Regions from separate parts of the Homo sapiens genome. Here region 1 is linked to region 2. The links are contacts of gene promoters, found by promoter capture Hi-C in human tissues and cell types (Jung and others, 2019). All regions are on one chromosome and are shown on one strand. The core of a region is centred on a gene start or on the middle of the fragment in contact, and the rest is flanking DNA. Distances in the headings are between cores, read along the strand shown.

Evidence for each region. The method cuts DNA at HindIII sites, captures the fragments that hold promoters and counts their contacts. A contact is called where the count stands out against the background at its distance.
Region 1: a contact is called between a fragment that was not itself captured here and the fragment with the promoter of TACR2 in region 2, in 1 of the 25 tissues and cell types used here (dorsolateral prefrontal cortex).

Annotation. Positions count from the first base shown.
Region 1 is chr10:69,009,014-69,015,396 of GRCh38, forward strand. It overlaps KIFBP (kinesin family binding protein), which reads left to right. Exons shown (of 7, transcript NM_015634.4): 6 at 1,887-2,002. Among named protein-coding and RNA genes, the nearest start is that of KIFBP, 23 kb to the left of the region's middle. The HindIII fragment of the contact is 4,582 bases long and covers 1-3,731 here.
Region 2 is chr10:69,414,756-69,420,663 of GRCh38, forward strand. It overlaps TACR2 (tachykinin receptor 2), which reads right to left and starts at 2,163. Exons shown (of 5, transcript NM_001057.3): 1 at 1,177-2,163; 2 at 190-384. The coding sequence starts at 1,568. RefSeq lists enhancers at 1,933-2,667, 3,418-3,712. The HindIII fragment of the contact is 13,628 bases long and covers 1-5,908 here.

The DNA.
Region 1 (6,383 bases), core at 191-2,690, 410 kb before region 2:
AAGAGCTATCATATGCCCTTCTAAATGCACCAATTTTTAGTATTTTCCTCGCTTGGAATCAAATTTTATTTTTCTCTCTGAACCATTGGAGAGAAGGTTACATACATTAGGCTCTTTTACCCTTTCATACTTTAGTATATATTTCCTAAGAAGAATATTTTCTTACATAATCATAGATCATTTATCAAATTCAAGAAATGTAACATTGGCCAGGCATGGTGGCCCACGCCTGTAATGCTAGATTTTGGGAGGCCAAGATGGGAGGGGCCAGGAGTTCAAGACAAGCCTGATCAACATAGTGAGACCCCATCTCTATGTTTTTAAAGAAATTAAAAAAAAAAAAGTAACATTGATACAATTCTTTTATCTACACTGCATATTTCTATTTCATCAGTTGTTGCCATAATATTCCTTCTAGCATTTGTTTGCCAGTACTGGATTATACAGTTCAAGATTGCATAATGCATTCAGTTGTCACATCTCTTCAGGCATTTTTCGTCTGGAATTGTTCCTCAGCCTTTCTTTCCCTTTCATCACTTAATATTAAGAATATAGGCCAGTTATTTCATAGAATTACTGCCAGCTGGGGTTTGTGTGATGTTTCCTTATGCCATGATTCAGATGATATATTTTTGGTTGGAATACTACATGCATAAGCGATGTTGCCAAATACCCATCTTTTTAAGTATAGTGTTTCCTTTAGTCTTAGAAAATCACAGTTAACATGTGTCTTTGAGTCATTTAACAGGTTTTTTAATAAGTTCATCATTTTCTTTAAAAATAGTTTATTTTTAAAAATAGTTTGATTCTATTGCTCACTGTTGAACAGTTTCCAACCTTCTTACGATGTTTTAGATTTTGAAACATCATGTCTTCCTTACAAATGGACATTCTAATTGTGGATCTGAAAAATGCAGAGACTCTTAAGAGCTAAAGGAATGTACATTATCAAAGTAAATAGTTGCTTTCTCCCCTAATATATTAACTACATTAATTATAGATTAGTTGAAGTCTAAGAGGCACTTGTCTCAAAAAATGAATAAAAACTAAATTGCTGAGATATTATTTAATAATTCACTTTATTTAAAGTAATATCGTGAGATATTATTTTGTTTTTACTCTTCATAATAGCTGAAAAAATGACAGTGACCAGTGTTTTCAAAATGTTCTTATTGAGCATTCTCATATATTGTTGGTTGGCATATTTGTTGAAAATAATTTGGCTGTATGTTGTGAATTATTTAAAATTGTGTAAACTCTTTTACTCAGTAAATTCCACTTCTAGGAATCTGCCCTAAGGAAGAAATCCAAAATCCAGACAGATTTTTGCACAATTATACTCATGTTTCAAGTTTAAAAAAAATGTGTGTATGTGTATAAACTTTACAAAGCTTTGTGTTGACAGCTGACTTTGTAGATTACAGCAAGAAAGCTGCTCTGCTATGTATGACACTCTGACCCAGAAGCAGGTCATCTGAATAGTTTAGCACCAGGTTCTCCACAACCATCTGTTGTGTGACATAGACGTTTTTGTGATAGTAAAGAATTGGAAACAACAAATTCCAGGTTAGAATTAGAAGAATGGTTAAATAATAGAATATCTATTTAATTGTATATAATGGTGTACTTAAAAATGAAGCTAAGAGTTGATAATGATATGAGTAAAGTGTTTGTGGTGCGAGAAAGAAATATGCAAAAATAATAGTGAGTGCTTCTGGGTAGTAGGATTTGGGGGGGGATCTTTCTTCCCTTTTCCCCAAGCCCCCTGCTTCAGTAAAGATCTGTTACTTTTATAGTCAGGAAAAAGTGATATTAAAAAAATTACAGTACCCAATGAAAATTACAGTTGTGACCATTAACTTAAACAAATCACATGTATATTTTAGCTCCTGAAGCTGAAGGAGAAGTGCCAGAGCTTTATCATCAAAGAAAGGGGGAAATAGCAAGGTGCTGGATCAAATACTGTTTGACTCTCATGCAGAATGCCCAACTCTCCATGCAGGTAATGCAGTCAGAAGCTGCCTTTTTCTTTCTTAAATGAGGAAATTGTAAGTAAAAACTCATAGTGGGGATTGTGCTCATTGGGGTCACATTGTGTTTAATATGAAAGGTGTGTAGAATGTTTTCGTAAATATTTCTTTCTTGGTTTTAAATCGTATTCTTCGAATTGCTTGAATCCGGGAGGCAGAGGCTGCGTGAGCCGAGATTGGACCACTGCACTCCAGCCTGGGCAACAGAGCGAGACTCCATCTCTAAATAAATAAATAAATAAAATAAATCTTACTCATCATTCAAGGCCTATCTTAAATACTACCTCTTCCTTGAAGACTTTTCTTTGGTTAGAATATAAGCTTCTTGAGAGCTGGGAACGATATCATATTCTTTTTTTTTTTTTTTTTAGACAGGCTCTCGCTCTGTTTCCCAGGCTGGAGTGTGGTGGCGTGATCATGGGTCACTGCAACCTTGGTCTCCCCGGCTCATGCAGTCCTCCCACCTCATCCTTGGAGTACAGGCGTGTGCCACCATATCCAGTTAATTTTTAAATTATTTTGTAGAGACTGGCTCTCACTGTGTTGCCAAGGCTGGTCTTGAACTCCTGGGCTCAAGTGATCTTCCTGCCTTGGCCTCCCAAAGTGCTGGGATTACAGGTGTGAGCCACTGTGCCTAATCTTTTTTTTTTTTTTTTTTTTTTTTTTTTTGAGACGGAGTTTTGCTCTGTCGCCCGTGCTGGAGTGCAGTGGTGTGATCGCAGCTGCAACCTCTGCTTCCTGGGTTCAAAGGATTCTCCTGCCTCAGCCTCCTGAGTAGCTGGGATTACAGGTGCCTGCCACCATGCCTGGCTAATTTTTGTCTTTTTAGTGTAGATGGGGTTTCACCATTTTGGCCAAGCTGGTCTCGAACTCCTGACCTCAAGTGATCCATCCATCTCGGCCTCCCAAAGTGCTGGGATTACAGGTGTGAGCAACCACACCTGGCCAAGCCCTTACTAATCTTTATATACTTCCCAGTGTTATCTTACACACAGCATGGACTTGATAAAATCTAAAAGGGTAGACTTTTAAGAAATAGCTCATGTAATAGTTCAAAAATAGAAGCAGAACTGATGGCAGTGAAGAGCATGGACTTGAAATACACTAGGTAGGTATGAACTCCAGCTCTGCCGCTTCGTAGCTATGTCTTTGTGGCAATTTACTTAATATATTTTTGCCTCTATTTCCTCACAAGTAAGTTGGAGATAATAGTACTTAATACTGTTGTTATGGGAGTTAAGTCAGTATATATTAAGGCCTCGGAAAAGTGCCTGAGACATACTAAGTCCTTAATAAATGTTAACTACCATCATCATTATTAATTTATGCCCAATCCTAGTTTCTAAGCACTAGGGAGGATAATAAAATTAATCATTTAGATGCAATATACTAAGTGTAGATACATAGGAAGATTTCCTGGGGGATTCATTGTGCTTTTATTTTTTTATATTGTGTATTAAAGTATGATAATTTTTTTTTTTTACATGGGACTCTGCTTGATAAAAGTATAATAATCTTTAGTGGTTGTATTAGTCTGTTCTCACACTGCTATAAAGAACTACTTGAGGCCAGGTACAGCGCCTCATGCCTATAATCCCAGCACTTTGGGAGGCCAAGGTGGGTGGATCACTTGAGCCCATGAGTTTGAGACCAGCCTAGACAACATGTTGAAACCCTGTCTCTACCAAAAATACAAAAAATTAGCCAGGCATGGTGGTGTGCACCTATAGTCCCAGCTACTGGGGAGGCTGAGGCAGGAGAATCACTTGAGCCCAGGAGGCAGAAGTTGCAGTGAGCCAAGACTGCACCACTGCACTCCAGCCTGGGTAACAAAACAAAAGAACTACCTGAGACTGGGTAATTTATGAAGAAAAGAGGTTAATTGACTCACAGTTCCTCAGGCTTAACAGGAAGCATGACTAGGAGCCCTCAGGAAACTTAGAATCATGGCGGAAGGCGAAAGAGAAGCAAGCATGTCTTACCATGGCAAGCAGGAGAGAGAGAGAGGGCAAAGGGGGAAATGCCACACACTTCAAAACCATCAGATCTCATGAGAGAGCTCACTCATTACCACAAGAACAGCAAGGAGGAAATCTGCCCCCAGTGATCCAGTCACCTCCCACCAGGTCCCTCCTCCAATTTAATGTGAGATTTGGCCAGGGACACAAATCCAAACCATATCAGTGGTAAATAATATAGAACCTTGTGAAACTACTAAACGAAAGAAAACCAAACAAACAAACCTCAACACATCAGAAGCATAGGTCTTGAAAAGATGAAGATAATTTTAGAGGTCAGAGGGTAAAGAGGAGGCATATTAAGGAAAGACAGGAAGTAGGGAGAATAACTGTGGGGCTTTATGTGTAGAGAATTTGGAGCCAGGAAGAGCTGTCAAGTTTATTCTGGTCAGGTAAAGAAAGCTGGAAAAGGAGGGTTGCAGGGACTATTGGAGCAAAACAGTAGGCTAATTTAAATAAGCATCCTAGAGAGAACATGTAAGTAAACAAGCAGCCCAAGAAGGAAGGAAGTATACAAGATTTAGAGACTTATGATCTACATTTGAAGTAATTGTGTCAAGCAAATCGCACTATGATTTGACCCTTACCTTTCATTTAGTTGATGTTTCTAGTCTGGGAACTTAAAACTTCATCACTTGGTTAGTTTAAACTCACATATTTGCCATGCTACTAAACTACTCAGATTTTCCTTAAACCCAGTTTTGTTTTTTGAGATGGGGTTTCTGTCACCCGGGCTGGAGTGCAGTGGCATGATCTCCACTCACTGCATCCTCCACCTCCCTGGCTCAAGCAGTCCTCCTACATCAGCCTGCCAAGTAACTGGGACAACAGGTGTGTGCCACTGTGCCCGGCTAATTCTTTGTATTTTTGTTAGAGACGATGTTTTACCATGTTGCCCAGGCTGGTCTTGAACTCTTGAGCTCAAGCGATCCACCCACGTCGGCCTCCCAAAGTGCTGGGATTACAGGTGTGAGCCACTGCGCTCACCCCTGACTTTATTTTTTAACCTTAACTTCATCCTTTATCATCTGTATATTTATCTGAAAGACCTTCTTCAGTTCAAGCTTTAAGACATACATAAATTTATTCAATTAAGTATTTATTTATGCCAACCCTGTGCTAGTCATTGGCCAAGGATACTATGATGAACAAAAATGAACCTAGCCTTTAACTTCATGTAAAAGTACAATTTTGCTAAGTTCCACAAAGGAGAGACACATGATATGAGAAGGCACAATAGGAGGAAATAACAAGCAAGCTCTGGGGATGAGTAAGTAGGAGTTACCTAGACTGAAGAAAAGAAGGCACACCATGTCAAGGAGCTGAAGCAACATGTTTAGAAGTTCTGTGGCGTAAGGGAGGATGATATCAGAAGGGATGGAGCAAAGGCTGTGAGGTTGGAGCTGAGGGAGAGGGAGTGTGATATAAGCTAAAGTTAGAGTTAGAAAGGGGCTGGAGCAATCAAGGCTTTGAAGCATTGTTGTCTTCATCTTCTGAGCATTTGGAAACCTTGAAGGGTTTGTGGAAAGATCATTGGTGAGACAGTGTCAAGTGAAAAGAAGAAAAGGCCTTGGGATCTATTATTTATTTTTATTGGCCAAGAAGAGCTTACCCTATTTCTTAACCACCTTAGTTATTCTTTCTTTTTTTATTTGCCCCCCCCCACCCCCAAGAGGTAGAGGAGATAAAACTTTAACTAGGAAGGTAGATTTAACTCTTTGTTCACTTTGATGTCTTTAAGAGACCTAGAGCATTTCTGTCTGATATATTTCACTAAATAACTAATAGCATAAACATGGTAGCATTAATCTTAATGGCATCCTTGTGAAACATTTTTATGATGTAGATTACAGTCTTTTTGTTTGTTTGTTTGTTTCTTGAGATGGAGTCTTGCACTGTCACCCAGGCTGGAGTGCTGTGGCGCAATCTCCACTTACTGCAACCTCTGCCTCCTGGGTTCAAGCGATTCTCCTGCCTCAGCCTCTCAAGTAGCTGGGATTACAGGCGCCTGCCACCATGCCTGGCTAATTTTTTATATTTTTAGTAGAGACAGAGTTTCACTATGTTGGCCAGGCTGGTCTTCAACTCCTGACCTCGTGATCTGTCCGCCTTGGCCTCCCAAAGTGCTGGGAGTAATGTATCACATATATATAATGTTTCACAATTCTCAAAGTACTTTTACATGTAGCATTTATCTTATTGGAAGGAGTAACTGTAAATAAATTTCAGTTCCTCAGAATAAATGATATGTAAGCAGCTTGTCTATTTAAATACTTTTTTTTCCACATTTCTTGAGTTTTTAATATAATCGGAAGAAAGAAAGAAGTTTTCAAAG
Region 2 (5,908 bases), core at 913-3,412:
TACATCGTGTGTGTTGCTTACTAAGCATATAGGTATATTCACACAATCCCGTGTACACTCACTCATGTGTACACCCATGCATGCACACCACACATGCATGGACATGGATGCATGCACGCGTGTGTACACACACACACACAGACTCACACACACACACTGTTGCCCTCCACAATCCCCCAGAGGCCTTACAGGAGGAGCGTCTTGCCCCCGCTGTCTTCGGGCCAGGCCACCACGCACTTGGTGGCACCCTGGTCCATGGTGACGGTGGAGTAGAAGCACTGAGGGGAGGCCAGGGCGAGAGCCACCAGCCAGATGCCAGCAATAACCGCCTTGGTGCTGGGAGCTGAAAGCCGAGGCTGGAAGGGGTGGACGATGGCCATGTACCTGTGAGCAGAGGGCAGCTTGAGCGGCAGGGGCCCTCCTGTTAGCCCAGCTCCCTTTCCCCTGTCTCCCTCTCTCCCAACCCAGGCCCACGCCTTCTAGCCATTCCCCGCACTGCTGCCATCTGCTGATATCATAGTATCAGCCGACCTGCAGAGAGCCCGCTGGGTGACTCTCCCACAGCCACACAGCACACTGATGCCTTGGAACCCCGGCCCAGGCACCTCGGCCCACCATTTCCCTCTGGGCATGGACATGCCCGTGGACGGCCACAAGAAAGCCACACTGGAAGCCCATCTCAGGGCAAGATCAAGCATCCAACATTAGCCTGAAGCTCAGCCCTGAGCAGCGTTGGGAAAATAATTGGCCCTATTAGATTGTAACTGCAAGCAAACTTAACATTTTCCCCTCGTGTAATCTATCCGGAATAATAAAAAAAAAACTGTATAAGACATATCTTTGGAGTGAAATAAAGACAACAAAACAAAGATCAACTCCAGGAAAGAACACTTCAGAAGGTCGCTAAAACATTGCCCACTTCCCCTACAGACTTGAACAACCTGTCTAGTGCATCTAGTGCAAAGTCCTTCTCTGTGTCTAACCCTCAGTCTACCTTCTTCAGCTCCACAGTCCCCCTGCCTTCCAGATTCATAGTTTTGGACCATGACCAGATTTGGGAAGCCATTCCCATGGTTCTACCCAAACTTGCTGTGTAATCACAGGCATGTCACCACCCTTATCTGAGCCCCGGCTCAGTGGGGAGGCTCCCCCCAGCTTCCCCAAGGACCCTCTTGCCTGTCGGCAGCAATGGCGGTCATGGAGTAGATGCTGACAAACATGGCTGTGATGGGGAAGAGGTTCTGGAAGTAGCAGAAGGCACGGCCAAAGTACCAGATGTTGTGGCTGGCATAGACAAAGTTGAAGGCGGCATTGAAGGCAGCCATGCAGAGGTCAGCCAGCGCCAGATTGACGATGAAGTAGTTGGTGACTGTGCGCATCCTCCGATGGGCCAGGATGATCCAGATGACGATGGCATTACCCGTCACGGCCACCAGCACCAGGGCCAGGTAGGCTGTGGCCCACAGTGCCAGTTGCCAGCTGGGCATGGAGAAGGCTGTGATGCCCGTGGTGTTGCTCTCAGGGCCAGATGAGATATTGGCTTCAGTCACAATGTCACAGGTCCCCATGGCTGCTTCTGGGTCTGGAACAAAGGACCTGGCTCCTCGGCTCCTCTCGGATTTGCTATGAAAGAGAACTCCCCTTCAGAGCATGGGAATATGGGGGCAGGGAGAGGAGCAGATGCCAAGCGTGGTGGCACATCAGGAGAGCCTGGGGCCACTCCTAGGTCTCAGGCAAAGATGAGCTGGGCTGAGCACAAAGCCCAGTCCAGAACCATTGTCATTTCAGATTCCATCCTTCCGGCCAGACTTCTCGAATATCATGTGGAAACACAGAATTCAAATCACAGTGTCAGAGCAGAAAACACCCTTATAAATCAACCCCTTCGCTGAAGAGATGGAAGACAGAGATTCCAAGAGGGGACGGGACCAGCCCAGGTCACTCAGGAAGTTGGTGACAAGTTAGGACTCGAACCCAGGTTTCTCGTCACGTAATTCAGGAAACCTTCCAGATCAGAGGAATGCACAGCGGGAGTCTCTGGAGTCCACAGGTCAATGGCGCAGCAGCCTCTCTCCAGGCTTTGGGCTGCAAGCCGGGCTGGGTGCTGGGTGCTCAGGGCTCTGCCAGCTGCCAGCCCTCGCTGCAGCTTCCCTGCCGTTCTCTGGGGCAGGGCCAGTGGGGGCCTTGGCAGAGGTGCTGCCTGCTCACGAGGGGGGGCTTTGGCTCCCGCCCCTGGTCCCACCCCCTGCTTGGCCTTGTCTCTTGAAAGATTTAGGACTGGCTGCAGAGGCAGGGAGAGACTTGGGGGAGATGGGGCTGGTACAGAGGGCCCAGCTCTCGGCGGATGTTGACTTTCAGCCCAGGACAGGAGCTACGTCTGAAGAGTGATTCTGAATACAGAAGGAGTTCGAGCCTGGTTTGGTGACTCCAGGCAAGTCTCTTAACCTTTCTGAGCTCTGTCTACCCCATCTGAAAAATATAGAAAAATGGTGTGCATCTTACAGTACATTTGTGAATTTTAAATGGAGATAATGTGCACAAAGTCTACTTAGCACAGGGGTTGGTACATAAAAACTATGATTGGAGTTTCTGGCCCGAAGGGAGGACCCCACAGCTCTGGGCGCTCTAGGAGGAGAAGCCAGAACCCGGAGCGTTTCCAGCGAGTTCCCAGGTGATACTGATGCTGCTGGAGCCAGCACTTCACTTTGAGAACCACTGTCTTAGGACAAAGTCAGGGCTCTTCCGGGAACCACAGCAAAGCTGGAGTTTTAACTCCTGAGAAGCTGCTCTAGGTTTGCCCCAAGATCCCTGCTCCTGGTCATTGACTGTGTGCACGTGTGTGAAGCAGTGAAGATGTTTCTGAGCAACTGTATGTGCGGCTGACGTGTTAAGCTCACACACACGCATGAACCTGTGCACACCTGTGGTGTGTGGACCATGAAGGCAGGGCAGGATTAGCGGGAGTCGGGGGGGCATGTTCTTCATTAAAGCAGAGGAGGCTTCTCATTCACCAGCAACCCACGGCACAGCAGCCTCTGTGCTCCCAGGGCTCTGCCTTGCACCGCCTGGGTTTCTCGTGGCTGGGCCTCGGCCCCCACACTCCCAGTCCATTTTCTGCTTCTCCCTGTGTGTCACTTTCCTGACACCCAGCCCTTGTCTCCCGGGGTGAGCTGAGAAAGACCTTTAAAGGTCTCTAGTGCTGAAAAGATTATGCCACCCATGGAATCCAATATAAAAACAACACTAAACCATAAGTCATGAAACTTAAACATGCTGAAATTGAAAGAGCTTCTTTATGGATTTTTCTGATTATGAACTTCTGGGTAAGTTCATCGACAATCAACACTGAAATTGTATCTATTGTTTGGTCTCCCTGCTGTGCAGATGTGAGGAGCATGTGCTGGGTCGAATGGGAACCCCATCCTTGCCCTTGGGGAGGGAGTGCTTCCTGGGCCCCTACTCCTCCCGTGGGTGTGTGCCTGTGTGCCTGTTTCCTCTCTGGAGTGGCCTGTTTGGACTTTGGACCCTAGCAGAAGGGTCTCTGCCTTTGATCTCTGTTGGTGGCGGCAACAGTAGCAGTACTTTAGGGTTTGCTTCTGTCTCATGCCCATCTGGCCAGGGTCCTAAAGAGCAGAATGTGTAGAAATAAGAATGGAAGCCCAAGACAGCCTGCTCTTTTTGCTGTCCTCCTGCTCCCAGGCAGTGGGAATTTGTTGAGCTTCAGGTGCAAACCCAGTGCAGGGCTGGGATGCCTGAGCGCCTGTCACCAGTCACAGAAGCCCAGCAGAGTTCAAGTTCCTTCCTCCCCACAACATCCCGCCACCTCCACTGTTTATGTAAAGGGGATTATGTTTTGGAGCTTGTACATCTGAGTTTTTATTTTCCCCTTAAATTATCTGCTCTTGCAGCCTTCCAACTATGTGCTATGGTTTGAAGCCTCGTGAAAGGGGAAGATGCGGGCCACCCAGGATGAAGGGGTTCCTGATCAGCTTTGCTGCTTGGCACTGGCCTTCTGAGTCCATAGCTAGACAGCGATCCCGAAGGCCAGTCCTTATTTTATTTTATTATTTTAGATGGAGTCTCACAGTGTCGCCCAGGCTGGAGTGCAATGGCACGATCTTGGCTCACTGCAACCTCCGCCTCCTGGGTTCAAGCGATTCTCCTGCCTCAGCCTCCTAAGTAGCTGGGATTACAGGTGTATGCCACCACACCTGGCTAATTTTTGTATTTTTTTAGTAGACAGGGTTTCACCATGTTGGTCAGGGTGGTCTTGAACTCCTGACCTCAGGTGATCCACCTGCCTCAGCCTCCCAAAGTGCTGGGATTACAGGCATGAGCCACTGCGCCTGGAAGGCCAGTCCTTTTAAAGGAGAAAAAAAAATGCCGGGCACGGTGGCTCACACCTGTAATCGCACACCTGAGCTGATGGTGCCAGTTGCGTGCATCCAGGAAGCAGACCCTGCTGTGTAAGAAACACACCAGCTGTTTCTCAGGGAGCTACCACTGGGGTCAACACTTGGGGCAGCAGACAAGGCAGGAAGCAAGTGTGGCTGAAGCACGGCATCGTGCTGTGGTCCAGGCCTACAATAGCCTTGGTAACCCCATGGGTAATTGGAACTGGGATAGCTTCAGAGTTGCCCCGTGTGGGGCAAAGTTAACCAGGCCTTTATATTTCCACATTGGTCACTGGACGTGGGCCACCCCAAGAAATCATGTGATTGTTGTCAAGGCAGTTGAGGCGAGGCCTGCAGTCGGGGACGCTAAACATGGTGCTGGTACTATATGCCTGCCCGGCAGCTTGAAGGGGGCCTGGGAAGCGCAGGGCAACGTCCACACAGCTAGACAGCAGCCACTCCTTCAGACGGGCGTGCGCTGGCAACTGTGCCTTGCTGGTTGGTGTAATTGTGACCTCTGGGCTAGAGGCTTAAAGACCAGAGTTGGGAGAGGAATGATCTTCCAGGGAGTTTGAGGAAGAAAAGGTGGGAGAGCTGTGGTGTGTGAGAGAAGTGGGTGGGAGAGGAAAGGCGGCTCCAGAAAGCACTGTGGATGAGGCGTTGCTATCAGCGCCTGGGGGATGCTCTTGAGAGTGGCCTATCTCTGTTTGGGAGGCTGCTCTGGGCCCTAGCTTCAGAGGTCACAGACAGCATCGCGGGACACTAGCGCTGAGGGTCACCCTGTCACCAGGGCAATGCTGGGGGTGCCAGGAGGTGGCCGAAGTGAGAGGAGGACGTGGGGTTGGCAAAGGGTCAGCCCCTCTGCTGAAAGGCTCCAGTCCTGTGCCCGGTGGTGGGTCTGACCCTGAGCCGCTGCTCCAGTGATCATCCCAGAGACAGGAGGAAGGATCACATCTGTATTTGCGGGAGCTCCTGGTGGGGCCAAATGAGGACAAGAAGAAGAACACTTTTCATTCTGCTAGATGAATCTGGTTCCATGGACTGTCCTTCATTCCGAGACCATGCCCTTCCTGCTGTTTGAGTTCTTTCATGAAATAATGGGGATGGCGGATGGTAGTTGTTGACCTGGTTTTGCTTTTTCTTTAAAATTCCTTACTTGGTGGAATAAAAAGTCAGTGACCGGTATGGTTCCCTCAATAGGGTTTTTGTTGTTGTTGTTGTTGTTTTTGTTTTGTTTGTTTGTTTTTGAGACAGAGTCTCACTGTGTTGCCCAGGCTGGAGTGCAGTGGCACAATCTTGGCTCACTGTACCCTCCACCTCCCAGGTTCAAGCGATTCTCCTGCCTCAGCCTCCCGAGTAGCTGGGATTACAGGCGCCCACCCCCATGCCCAGCTAATTTTTATATTTTCAGTAGAGACGAGGTTTCACCATGTTGGCCAGGCTGGTCTTGAACTCCTGACTTCAGGTGATCTGCCTGCTTCAGTCTCCCAAAGTGGTGGGATTACAGGCGTAAG